Linked DNA regions of Homo sapiens: regions 1 and 2 are each linked to region 3. Evidence: promoter capture Hi-C in human tissues and cell types (Jung and others, 2019). All regions are on one chromosome and are shown on one strand. Each heading gives the region's core, a stretch centred on a gene start or on the middle of the fragment in contact. The rest is flanking DNA. Distances are from core to core; before and after follow the strand shown. Region 1 overlaps HGS (hepatocyte growth factor-regulated tyrosine kinase substrate). Region 2 has its middle 5.2 kb from the start of RENO1. Region 3 holds the start of FSCN2 (fascin actin-bundling protein 2, retinal).

What was found. The method cuts DNA at HindIII sites, captures the fragments that hold promoters and counts their contacts. A contact is called where the count stands out against the background at its distance.
Region 1: a fragment that was not itself captured here is called in contact with the fragment with the promoter of FSCN2 in region 3 in 1 of the 25 tissues and cell types used here (lymphoblastoid cells).
Region 2: a fragment that was not itself captured here is called in contact with the fragment with the promoter of FSCN2 in region 3 in 4 of the 25 tissues and cell types used here (dorsolateral prefrontal cortex, lymphoblastoid cells, mesenchymal stem cells and 1 more).

What each region holds. Positions count from the first base shown.
Region 1 is chr17:81,687,732-81,691,832 of GRCh38, reverse strand. HGS (hepatocyte growth factor-regulated tyrosine kinase substrate) reads right to left here. Exons shown (of 22, transcript NM_004712.5): 5 at 3,006-3,129; 6 at 1,599-1,651; 7 at 1,091-1,159; 8 at 262-386. Among named protein-coding and RNA genes, the nearest start is that of MIR6786, 4.0 kb to the left of the region's middle. The HindIII fragment of the contact is 5,827 bases long and covers 1-4,101 here.
Region 2 is chr17:81,349,108-81,353,206 of GRCh38, reverse strand. No RefSeq gene overlaps it. Among named protein-coding and RNA genes, the nearest start is that of RENO1, 5.2 kb to the right of the region's middle. The HindIII fragment of the contact is 3,176 bases long and covers 1-2,984 here.
Region 3 is chr17:81,526,461-81,530,501 of GRCh38, reverse strand. FSCN2 (fascin actin-bundling protein 2, retinal) reads right to left here and starts at 2,125. Exons shown (of 5, transcript NM_012418.4): 1 at 1,145-2,125. The coding sequence starts at 1,970. RefSeq lists enhancers at 1,151-1,676, 1,677-2,203. The HindIII fragment of the contact is 15,570 bases long and covers 1-4,041 here.

The DNA.
Region 1 (4,101 bases), core at 1,591-4,090, 160 kb before region 3:
AACCCAAACCCAAGCAACAGGTTTGTCGGGGCAGCCTCGGTCCCTGGAGCCGCGGCGCCCTGTCTCTCACACCCACCTGCCCTAGTGTGGGGCAGGGTCCGAGGGCATGCGGCCACCCTGGGTTTCCCTTGACCTTCCAGCTGCTGTGCTGTGAGGGTCCTCTGGGGTCTGCAGGCCTCAGGCACCATGGCCAAGAGGGACAGAAAACCCAGCCTGGAGAGCCTGCCCCACCTGCAGCCCAAATGGGGGGCGGGGACTCACCTGTTCAGCTGCTCGTAGCAGGGCTCACACACGCGCACCTCCTTCTCGATGCCAAACTTGGGGATGGTGGAGTACTTGGAAGAACACTTTCCACAGAATATCTGCCCACACGCCCGGCAGTGGTGCTGTAAGATGGGGCGGGCGGGCCTGGTCACAGGCACTGGGGGACCCTGATGCGCCACCCGGCCCAGAACCACCCCGTACGATGCCGAAGCTGGGCCTCACAGGTGGGGGAAGGCAAGGGACAAGCAGAACAAGTGCCTGGGAAGACCCTAAGGCCGGGGAACCTGGACATGCTCCCGGGAGTCTCAACGCCAGCCACCGTTTTGGGGAAAATAAGGTAAGTTAAAAGTAAGGGCAAGGAAAAAATACACATCAATTCTGCTGATAAAACAAGAGCTTTTGTGAGTGCAGTGGGTGCTGGAAGCTGCTGACACCCCAAACCCCAAGCACTGCCGGTTGCCAGCCTGGAGGGGGTTTTGATGTGAAGATGCCTCGAGGGTAAGAATCCAGATGGGCTAAGCCACAAAGAGAAGGGGGCCCCACGGCCCTGGCAAGCAGCAGAGTGACTGTGGCAAGGCCTGTAGCCCTAGGTTTAAAACATTATAATTCCAGAGTGAGGCTGGGCCCGGCCCAGGCAGTGGCATCAGGCCCTTACGTGGGCCCTCACTGTCCCCCTCCTGACGCCACACTGCCACCCGCTGCGAGCTGCACTCACCTCCTGAACCACCCACCAGGAAGGAAAGGCCCAGCAGGGACGGTGGCCTTGTGCACGGCAGGGGACCTGGTGTCTGGCCGGGGCTGTAGAGCCCCCCAGGTGGGAACTCACCTTACGGGTCATCACCCCGAACTGCACCCTGCAGCGGTGGCATTCCTCAGCGTCCACCCAGTCTGGGGCCTGAGGAGGGGCAGCAGTCAGGACCACACGCTTCCCGCCCCACCAGCCCCAGAGGCACAGAGCCTCCCCTGCCCCACAGAAGGCAACGGACCCAGAGAGGACCCCAGCACGAGCGAGAGCAATGCCCCGGGCGGCCCTTCCCAGCGGCGTGGCCTGGGGTGAAGCTGCCGAGGCCTGAGGAAGGGACTTCCTTCCTCATCAAAGGTGCTTGTTTTCCTTTCCCGAGCCCCCTAGCCACTCTAAAGGCCCTCAAGCCACGTCTCCACCTCGCCCTGCAGAGACAGCTGCTACGCCTCCGCCCAGGACACACAGGCATCCTCAGGTCCCAGACAGACGAGAGCTCAGCCACCAACCCTCAAACAAGCCGGGCTCCCAGCACTCCCCTTCACGCTTCCTGAGCAGCCCGACTCCAGAACCCCTGGCGGCCGCCCACACTCACTCTCTCGGCAGCAAACATGGCATCGCTCTCTTTGAATTCTGGAAAGACGTGCCCTGGAGAGATGAAGCCATAGTCACTGCCTGCTCCCACCTGGCCTGCAAGACTTCCGGGAGCCCCTTCCTCACTCTCGGCAGCTGCAACGCAGCAGTGACCGTGCACCCAAGTGAAGGTGTCTGGGGGCACCGAGACAGCCTCCTGCCCCCAAGATTGGGTGTCCCCATGGGGCCTCTGTCCTCACTGTGGCGGGAGACAAGAGCCAGGCCCTGCTGCCCTCTTCCTGAGACACTGCTCCCACTCCATCAGGGCATGAGGCCCCTGCGTGGCCCCGCCTGCTGAGTGGCTCCCTCACCCTCTGCTCTCTGGCCAGGGCTCCCACTGATCCTGAGGACAAGACCTTGAGCTATTCTTGACACACGACCCCAGAAAAAATCCAGGAGAGCTCCCACCCCAGGAAGGAGACAGGAGCACAGACCACCAGCATCCACCACCCCAAAGTTGAGGGTCCAAGGCAGCTCGTGCAGCGCCCCCTGCGTTCTTCCCGTGTTCTCCACACTGGTCCTGCCCACCCTGCAGCCACAGGGCAAGCGTCCAACTCCTGCAGCGGGGACGCACCACCCCTGGAGCCTGCCCCATTCCCCACGCTCTCAGCCTCGTCTTCAGCAGACTCAGGGCCACAGAGAACCCGCACAGATGTGAGCAGCCATGCCCACCTCTCTCTCACTGAGTGGGCCCTGAGCACCAGCCAAGACTCCCAAATGCATCCTGAAGCCCCCACCTCTCTCTACACAATCCCCTAGTTCTCCACGGCCACAATGGCCGAGAGGGACCCTTAAGAAACACACCTTGGCAGCCACGACCTAGACGAAAACCCACCAGAGGCCTCCTGCTGCGCTGACAGCAACCCTGAACTCCAGCCCAACAGCCTGGAGGCCCTCGGCGCACAGGCCCGGCTGCACTCTCCTCTGGCACGCTGGCCACCTTTCTGCCCTGGGGCCTCAACCCTGAGTGTCTGCCCACGGGTGCTGCCTGCCTGCTCACGCCGGCTCTGGCTTCTGTTCCAGTCTCGACACTTGGGACAGCTCCTTCAGAGGCCTTCCCTGACTGCACAGCCCAACCCGGCCCCCAGGAGTCCTGCCACTCTGAAACAGGCTGTCTGCTGCCTTTTCACCTGTGTGTTGTCTGCCATCACTGCCTGCCCCTGCCCGTGGGCCGTGGGTCCAGAAAGGCAGGAGCCGGTCTGAACCCGCCCTCACATGCACGGTCTTCCCTGGCTCCAGGCCACCGCCCTCCTCCCTCCCAACACAGGGAACAACCCATCTTCCCAGGCCCCTCGCCACTGTGCCCGTTGAGCCTGACTGCCCAGCAGTTCCAAGCCTCAACCTGGTCCCAACCTCAGTCCTGACTCACCCTCCACCTTCATGATCTGGTAGGTGTCCTGGACCACCTTGTACTTGGGCTCGTTCCGGAAGGCATGCGCCCAGGCCTGGATCAGGTACAGGATCTTGTTACGGACGTTTACCTCCACTTGTCTCTGCAGGCAGGGAGAAGGGGGTGAGGGTCGCAGGACACTCCAGGCGCCAGAGGCCTCGGTGTGAGGAAGCAGCTGGCAGACCTCAGCCTCTGAGCAGATGGGGCTGACACAGAGGCCAGGGAGGGCCCCCCGAGTGGGGCGTGGGGGCCATGCACCAACCTGTTCCCAGACCCTGAGTTCAAACCTCACGCCTGCCTCTACTTGCTGGAGCCAAACAACGCCGCGTCTCTGTGCCCCTGACCATCTGTCTCTCCCTTTCCCCACGGGACCTGCCCACCCCAGGATCCCCGGTTCCCGTCAGCCTCCAACAGGCAGGACCCGGCAGGCCTGACGGTGGCAGCGTGGTGTTGGGGCTGAGAACACAGGGGTACTGCGGGGCTCTGGCCACGCCCCTCCTTCCAGTCACAGCCGGGGAGACGCGGGGGGCAGCCGCTCCAGAAATGCCTCCAAATTCAGAGCGGGCTCCAGACCCCCTGCAGCCATCCTCTCCCCCGGTTAGAGCGCAGCCTGGCCTCGCGTCTACGGCCCTCTCGGGGACGCCGTCCCGGTGTGACGTGCAGGACGGCGTGCGATCAGAGGCTGCTGCAAGCAGGCTCCGGGGCACTTGCACCTCAGCCTAAGCTCCTTTCCAGAACCCCTCTGCATCCTCAGCGGCGCCTTCCCTTCACAGCCCTGCCTCACCCCAGAGGAGCGAACCGGCTCAGGATCTGCAGCCTGACTGAAGGAGCTCAGGAGCACCAGGGTCGGGCAGGGCCAGACTCCGGCACCTTCCGCCTCTCAGCCAGGACAGGACGGGACAGGAAGCCAGCCAAAGTGGCCAGTGAGGGCCTTTGAGAGGCCTGGCTGTCCACCGGGATCCCCGGGCAGGTTCTCAGCTGTGTGAGTCCAGGGAGTCTCCTATGAGACCCAGGTCTGGCCCACAGGTTGGGACAGAAGGGGAGCAGCCTGACTACATGGGACACTCTTTCTCCT
Region 2 (4,099 bases), core at 147-2,646, 180 kb after region 3:
AAAAAGAAAGTGGGGCGGGGTGAGGTGGCTCATGTCTGTAATCCCAGCACTTTGGGAGGTCAAGGAGGGAGGATCACTTGAGGCCAGGAGTTTCAGACCAGCCTGGAAAACATAGCAAGACCTCATCTCTACAAAGCAAACATGAAAAATTAGCTGGGTGTAGTGGCTCAAACCCTCTGGTCCCAGCTACTTGGGAGGCTGAGGTGGGAGGATTGCGTGACCCTGGGAGGTGGAGGCTGCAGTGACTCCTGTGCTGTACTACAGTGACCCTGCTGCTGTACTCCCTGTCTCAAAACACTCCACAAAACCAAACGAGCCCAATTTTTTATTTATTTATTTATTTATTTTTGAGACGGAGTCTTGCTCTGTCACCCAGGCTGGAGTACAGTGACGCGATCTCGGCTCACTGCAAGCTCCGCCTCCTGGGTTCACGCCATTCTCCTGCCTCGGCCTCCCAAGTAGCTGGGACTACAGGCGCCCGCCACCACGCCCGGCTAATTTTTTGTATTTTTAGTAGAGATAGGGTTTTACCGTGTTAGCCAGGATGGCCTCGATCTCCTGACCTCGTGATCCACCCGCCTCGGCCTCCCAAAGTGCTGCGATTGAGAGGTGACAGCGTGTGGCAGTCCTCACAGCCCTCGCTCGCTGTCGGCGCCTCCTCTGCCTGGGCTCCCACTGGCGGCACTTGAGGAGCCCTTCAGCCCGCCGCTGCACTGTGGGAGCCCCTTTCTGGGCTGGCCAAGGCCGGAGCCGGCTCCCTCAGCTTGCGGGGAGGTGTGGAGGGAGAGGCGCGAGAGGGAACTGGGGCTGCGTGCGTCGCTTGCGGGCCAGCTGGAGTTCCGCGTGGGCTTGGCGGGCTCCGCACTCGGAGCAGCCGGCCGGCCCTGCCAGCCCCGGGCAATGAGGGGCTTAGCACCCGGGCCAGCGGCTGCGGAGGGTGTGCTGGGTCCCCCAACAGTGCCGGCGCACCGGCGCTGCGCTGGATTTCTCGCCAGGCCTTAGCTGCCTTCCCGTGGGGCAGAGCTGGGACCTACAGCCTGCCATGCCTGAGCCTCCCGTCCCCGCCCCGCGCCCCCCACCCGTGGGCTCCTGTGCAGCCCGAGCCTCCCCGACGAGCGCCACCCCCTGCTCCACGGCGCCCAGTCCCATCGACCACCCAGGGGCTGAGGAGCGTGGGCGCACGGCGCGGGATTGGCAGGCAGCTCCACCTGCAGCCCCAGTGCGAGATCCACTGGGTGAAGCCAGCTAGGCTCCTGAGTCTAGTGGGAACTTGAAGAACTTTATGTCTAGCTAAGGGATTGTAAATACACCAATCGGCACTCTGTATCTAGTCCAAGTTTTGTAAACACACCAATCAGCACCCTGTGTCTAGCTCAGGGTTTGTGAATGCACCAATCGACACTCTGTATCTAGCTACTCTGGTGGGGCCTTGGAGAACCTTTGTGTAGACACTCTGTATCTAGCTAATCGGGTGGGGACGTGGAGAACCTTTGTGTCTAGCTCAGGGATTGTAAACACACCAATCAGTGCCCTGTCAAAACAGACCACTGGGCTCTACCAATCAGCAGGATGTGGGTGGGGCCAGATAAGAGAATAAAAGCAGGCTGCCCGAGCCAGCAGTGCCAACCTGTTCTGGTCTGCTTACACGCTGTGGAAGCTTTGTTCTTTCGCTTTTTGCAATAAATCTTGCTACTGCTCACGCTTTGGGTCCACACTGCCTTTATGAGCTGTAACACTCACCCCGAAGGTCTGCAGCTTCACTCTTGAAGCCAGCGAGACCACGAGCCCACCGGGAGGAAGGACAACTCCAGACGCGCTGCCTTAAGAGCCGTAACACTCACCGCGAAGGTCCGCAGCTTCACTCCTGAGCCAGCGAGACCACGAACCCACCAGAAGGAAGAAACTCCGAACGCATCTGAATATCAGAAGGAACAAACTCCAGACACGCCGCCTTTAAGAACTGTAACACTCACCGTGACGGTCCACGGCTTCATTCTTGAAGTCAGTGAGACCAAGAACCCACCAATTCCAGATACAGGATTACAAGTGTGAGCCACCGTGCCCGGCCTCTATTTATTTTTTATAATTTTTGAGACAGAGTCTTACTTTGTTGTCCAGGTTGGAGTGCAATGACGCAGTCCTGGCTCACTGCAACTTCTGCCTCCCGGATTCAAGTGATTCTCCTGCCTCAGCCTCCTGAGTAGCTGGGATTACAGGCACCCGCCACCACGCCCAGCTCATTTTTGTATTTTTAGTAGGGACAGGGTTTCACCATGTTGGTCAAGCTGGTCTCAAATGCCTGACCTCAAGCAATCCACCCGCCTTGGCCTCCCAAAATGCTGGGATTACAGGCGCGAGCCACTGTGCCCAGCCCCAAAGCTTATTTTTATTTGTTCACATGAATGCAGTTTTCTTGGTTATTATTTCTGAATCTTCTTGTAAATTTTTGAATACTACCTAAAATTATGAGGAAGGAAGCAAAAATCTGAGTTCACTTCCCCAGATTCTTTTTTTAAAGAACAAAATCTCTTTTCTCTCTGAAGCTATTACTGGTGTTTTTGAACACTGTGTGTTCTGAAACTCTTGCTCAGTGCAAGTTACACAACTGTAGCAAATAGACCCCAAACGTAGCTGCCCATGCCAGCCCGCGGCTTATTTATCCCTGACCTGCCCAAGCAAGTGCTCCTGCGGGGTGGGGCCTGGTTGGGCCCCAGGCTGAAGGCTGCCCTGTCATCTTGCACATTTGTCTTCCACAGTCTCTCTGATGTGCCCATTTCAGCCATCAGAAGGGGGAACCCTAAAAGCCTCCTGGAAGGGTGACCTGCTCCTGAAACTGGTGCACACTGCTTCTGCCAGATTCTGTTGGACACCACGGTTACCCAGCCACACCTACTGCGAGGGAGCCTGGGAATGCAGACCAGCCAGGGGCCCCATGAGAAGGGGTAACGGCTTCTGTTGGACAGCCGGACGGCAGCCAGCCAGCCCTTGGCCTCCAGACATCTGTGAGACCCACCCTTCCTCCACACATCGTGTTAGAAAAAGTCACCATCATCTCCAGGGAGAAGACCCAGCCCAAAGCCTGCCTCTCTAGGATGGGCAGAGCCTTTCCGTGGGTCCCGATGACTGTCTTCCGGGTCCAACTGACAGATGATTCATTAAGCCATCTGCTCCCCTCCCCCCGCAACCTGAGCCTTCATCTGATCTTTGCCGTAGGCCTGCACACTTTTGTTGGACTGAGCTGCCTGAGTGACAGGCCTTGAACAGCCACCATCTTTTCTCCTACTGTTTGAGGCATAAACAGTGGCTTTTTCAACCTGGGAGTCCCAACTTTCTGGGGTAACTCTAATTGCAAACCGGCCCTCAATTTCTGGAAACAGTAGTCAAGCTACAGGGAATGAGTGCCTCGCGCTAACCTTCTGGCTCTTTCCTCCCTCTTCCCAGCGTTCCCAAGCCTTTACCTCGGCACACCAGGGGACGTGTGGCATCATCTTCAATTCACCACATCCGTTTCCCTGTATCCCCAAGTGCCAGGGCAGGTGTATCAGTCGGCTTTTGCCACAACAGTGCTGCATAACGACGACCTTAAAGCTTGGTGGCCGAGTCTCACGCTCACAGGGCTAGGGCCGACCTCCACCTGGCCAAGCCCCTGGCCTCCGGGTTCTGGGATGTGGGCTGGGCTGAGGTCCGCCCAGGTTTCTCGCTTCTTGGAGCCCCCGTCAGTTATCTGCGTTCTCCATTCTTCTCTGGGGCACAGCCTGCTTGTAGTGGGTCCCTGGCAAGCAGGAAGACCAGGCTGCCCTTGCTGGCACATTCCAAACCTTTGCCCATTTCAAATCTGCTACCTTCCCACTAGCCAGAGCACGTCACTCGCCAAGCCCAAAGTCAAGGGAGGAGAGCCCACCCACCACCTAGAGACCACAGCAAGCAGACGGATGTAAAATTCTGCTACGGGGGAGTGAAAAACCAATGATTAAATTGCTAATTGAATTGTAAGTTAAACTGCTCTGAGGCATAGACGCTGGTGTAAATGCCTAAACAAAAGAGAAGTGGATTTCTCTCTTGACAACCATGGCAGGGTTTCCGTTTGACAATGGCCTTG
Region 3 (4,041 bases), core at 876-3,375:
TGCATGGAGCCAGGAGCCCAGGTGGGTAGTGACTGCCCGGGCCAGGGCTTTTCCCTCAGAGCTCAGCTTGTGGGGAAGGAGGAACTGCTGGGGTTCACCCCATAGGCGGTGGAGGGAGTCACACAGACAGGCAACTGGTGACCTGGGAACTGGGGAGAGCCAGGCCACGCCCCACTGGGGCAGGGAGGTGCCTCCCCACCAGGAGCCCAGGCCCCGGGTAAAGCTGCCTGCCCACCGTGTCCTCCATCACTGGAGCTGACCTTAAGCCCCCCCACTCCTGAGGACACGAGGCTCCACTGGTCAGGCACGTGGTGGTGCTATCCCCGCCCGATCCCCAGCTCCCTGCCCTACCCTGGGCTCCTCCCCAATTTCCTTTAAAGTCCAGAAAATGCAGCCGGGCACGGTGGCTCACGCCTGTAATCCCAGCACTTTGGGAGGCCGAGGTGGACAGATCACAAGGTCAGGAGATCAAGACCATCCTGGCTAACACAGTGAAACCCCGTCTCTTCTAAAAAATACAAAAAATTAGCCGGGCGTGGTGGCGGGCGCCTGTAGTCCCAGCTACTCGGGAGGCTGAGGCAGGAGAATGGCGTGAACCCGTGAGGCGGCGCTTGCAGTGAGCCGAGATCACGCCACTGCGCTCCAGCCTGGGTGACAGAGCGAGACTCTGTCTCAAAAAATAAATAAATAAATGAAGTCCAGAAAATGGGGTGGAGAAAAAGAAGGGGAGATATGGACCCCCCACAGCCTCCTGCCCACATGCCCCTCATGGCACCAGGCCAGGCTGTGGGCCTCCTGCCCCTGCTGGGCACTGCCCATCGCCTGGCCCACACCTCTCCAGTCTCAGACTCCGCAGCTGCCCAGGGCTTGGCTGAGACATTCTCCAGCTATGCTGAGAAAGGCCAGGAACCCTTGCCTCTGACCCTGAAGCCACCACCCCTCAGTGGGGGTCGCCTGGGCATGGCCCGAGGCCCACCCACCTACACCCTGAGTGGCCACACATGTCCCACATGGACCCCCAGCCCAGAACAGACATGTGAACGCACAGACACGATACCACTCCCCGTGAGACCCCCACGGCCTCCTCCCTGAAGCAGGGGGGTCCCAGCACCCCTCAGGAGGTCGCCACCTGTGCCCTCCCTACCTTGCCGCACAGAGACGTAGCGGTGGTTGGCAGCCACCAGCACCACCTGTGGGTGACTCTCCTCCAGATCAAAGAGCTCATCCTTGCCAGGTCGCGTGTTTCGGCCGGCCTTGAGGGTGCCTGCGGGCCCCACGGGTGCCAGGTAGTGGCCGTCGCAGTCCTTGAAGGCCAGCTTGCCCGCCTTGAACTCCAGCGTGTAGCAGGCACGGGGCTCAGGCTCCCAGACCAGACGGCCGTCGCTGCGCAGGTAGCGGCTGTCACAGGACTTGAGGCAGTACCGTCGGCTCCGGAAGATGAGGGTGAGGAGGGCGTCCACGCCCCAGGGCTTGTCTCCGTCTGCGGCCATCTCGTCCTCCCGCGGGCACAGGTGCACGTAGCGCCGCCGGCTCACGCTCAGCAGGTGGGCCTGCGGGTGGATGGCCAGGTGCACGGTCCACAGCTCGGCCGGGGAAACGGCTGTGGCGAAGCAGGACAGCTGGTCCTCGGTGCCTCCGAAGAAGCGGCCGTGCGGCTCGGACCGCAGCACCCAGCGCCCATCTGGCTGCGGCAGGACCAGGAAGCGGCAGTCACGGCCCGGCTGCTCTGCCTCACAGGCCACGCGCCCGTCCTCTTCTGCCGACAGGTAGCGGCCCAGGTGGCTGCTGCGGAGCAGCACAGCCGTGCCTTGTCCTGGGTCGGGTTCCAGCACCCAGGTCTGCTTCCTCTTGAGGCTGGGTGCCGAGGCATTGACCTTGAAGCCGAAGCTCTCAGCTGTCAGGTAGCGGTCAGTGTCGTTGACGAGGCCAAACTGGATCTTCAGCACCTGGTGCAGGCCGTTCGTCGGCATCTTCAGGCTGGCCGGGTCCCCGGAGGGGCCTGGGATGCGCCCTCTGAGTGCTCACGGCCCCCGCGGTCCCCCAGAAGCCCGGGTCGGCTCGGCTGGCCCACAGCCCCCAGACCCAGCCGGCGTCACGAACCCCCTGCCTGCTCTGACCCGCCTCTGACCCGCGGCAGCAGCCTGGGCAGCTCTTAGAGGGCCCGCGGGCAGCAGAGGGCGGGCGGGGAGGGCGGATCAGAGACGTGCGGCTTAGGAGCAGCACCTTTCATTACCCTCAGCTTGGATTTCAGCCACTCCCGGATTGCACAGAGCCCAGAGCCCGAGGGCCTGAGGGCCTACGGGGCTGGAGGGCAGGGTTGATCCCCTTTTCCTCATAGCGTGGGCCCAGCGCCCCTCTTCACGGCCCTGCACCTTTTGGCCTCTCTCGTTCCTGCCCCCCTCCTCCAACCCCGTGTGGGCTCCCGGCCCGGCCCGGCCCAGCCCTTCCGGATGTAGAAGCCGTCCAGTGGAACGCTCACGGCTCGGCCGCAACCTGATCGCCGCCCGTACCCTCGGTGGCCGCCAGGCCCTCAGCTGGATCCAGTTACTGCTTCTCTGATTCCTGCTGCCAGAAGCATAGCAAGGACCCCAGCCACAACCTGCAGCCCAGGTCGCCTCCACCCCAGACCGGCCTCTGGCCACACTGCTCAGGCCCCAGAATGACGCACTGGACTGCCACCCACGCTGGAGGGTGGAACACAGTGGCCGTGCAGCCCTGCAGGCAGGGGGCAGAGTCAGAGGCCCTGGGCCAGGCTGGCCCGGCCCCAGCGCACTCCTGTGCGCTCTGAGCAAGTTGCTGGGCCCTGAGGCTGCCCCCTCCTCTGCTGTGAGCTGGAGTGAAGCCAGCCTCACTTCACTTTGGAGTCTTTACGGATGTGGATCCAGGAGGCTGGTGGGACGATGTCCACCCCATGCTCCCAGCGGTGGCCCTTGGAATCTGGGAGAGGATGAAGGCCAGCAGGCCGGGAGAGACTGGAAGTGGTCACACCTGTCTACAGCACCTCCTTGCTCTGGGCCACCTGGCTGTACCCCTTCCCCAGAGCCTGAGGGGCACTGGGCCCTGCTCACCGTGCCTGGCTCCTGCACCTGCCTCAGGGGCTTGGGGCCAAGTAGTGAAACCAGAGCTGGCCACCCTGGGCCAGGGCCAGCCCGGTGTCCTCTTCCTCATAACAGCGTGTGACCCTCCCGTCTCCCTGGGGACTGGGAACAGGGGCCACAGGCCCCTTCCGGTCATGGCCTGGAGTCACTCCCCTGTCCTCCTGGGCCCATCTCCTGAGTGGCCATCATGGGGGTCCCCGTAGGGCAGGAGTCTAGCCAAAAGCAAGGGGCCTGGGCTGGGCACCTGTGGGCTCCAGAGGTGGGCAGGGCCATGGTGGCAGAGTGTGCACAGACTCAGGGGCTCTTCCTCTGTCCTCTAAGCCCTGGACAGCAACCGTGCCAGGCACCTGCAGACACAGGGGAGGAAAAAGAGGAGACCTGTCCCCACTGTCCCCACGCTCAGGGGCCAGGGTGGGGGCAGAGAGACTCCCACATGCAAATACCCCCCAGGGCACAGCGTACGCCACGACGCCAGGGCCTGCTCTCGCCTCTCCCTGTGTGCTGGCCTCATCCGCCTCTATGATTCACACGCATTTATGAGGCACCAACTGTGTGCGAAACCAGGTCACGTGCCAGGCACCATCCTGGGGAGACGCAGTCTGGGGTTTCACCCCCTTCCCAGAGACGATGCCCACACACACTCTCCCACAGTTTCCAGGGGACTGAGGACACAGGCCTAGCACCGATGCCAGGGAACTGTCTCTGGTTTAGGGATACAAGCTAGGGTGCTGCCTGCACCTCACTTTCCCATTGGCTCTTCTTTTTAAAAAACTTTTTTCTTGAAATAGGGTCTCGCTCCTCACCCAAACTGGAGTCCAGTGGCGCAATCTTGGCTCACTGGAACCTTCGAGCTCAAGCAGTCCTCCTGCCTCAGCCTCCCAAGTAGCTGGGATTACAGGCACTTGCTACCGTGCCCGGCTAATGTTTGTATTTTTAGTAGAGA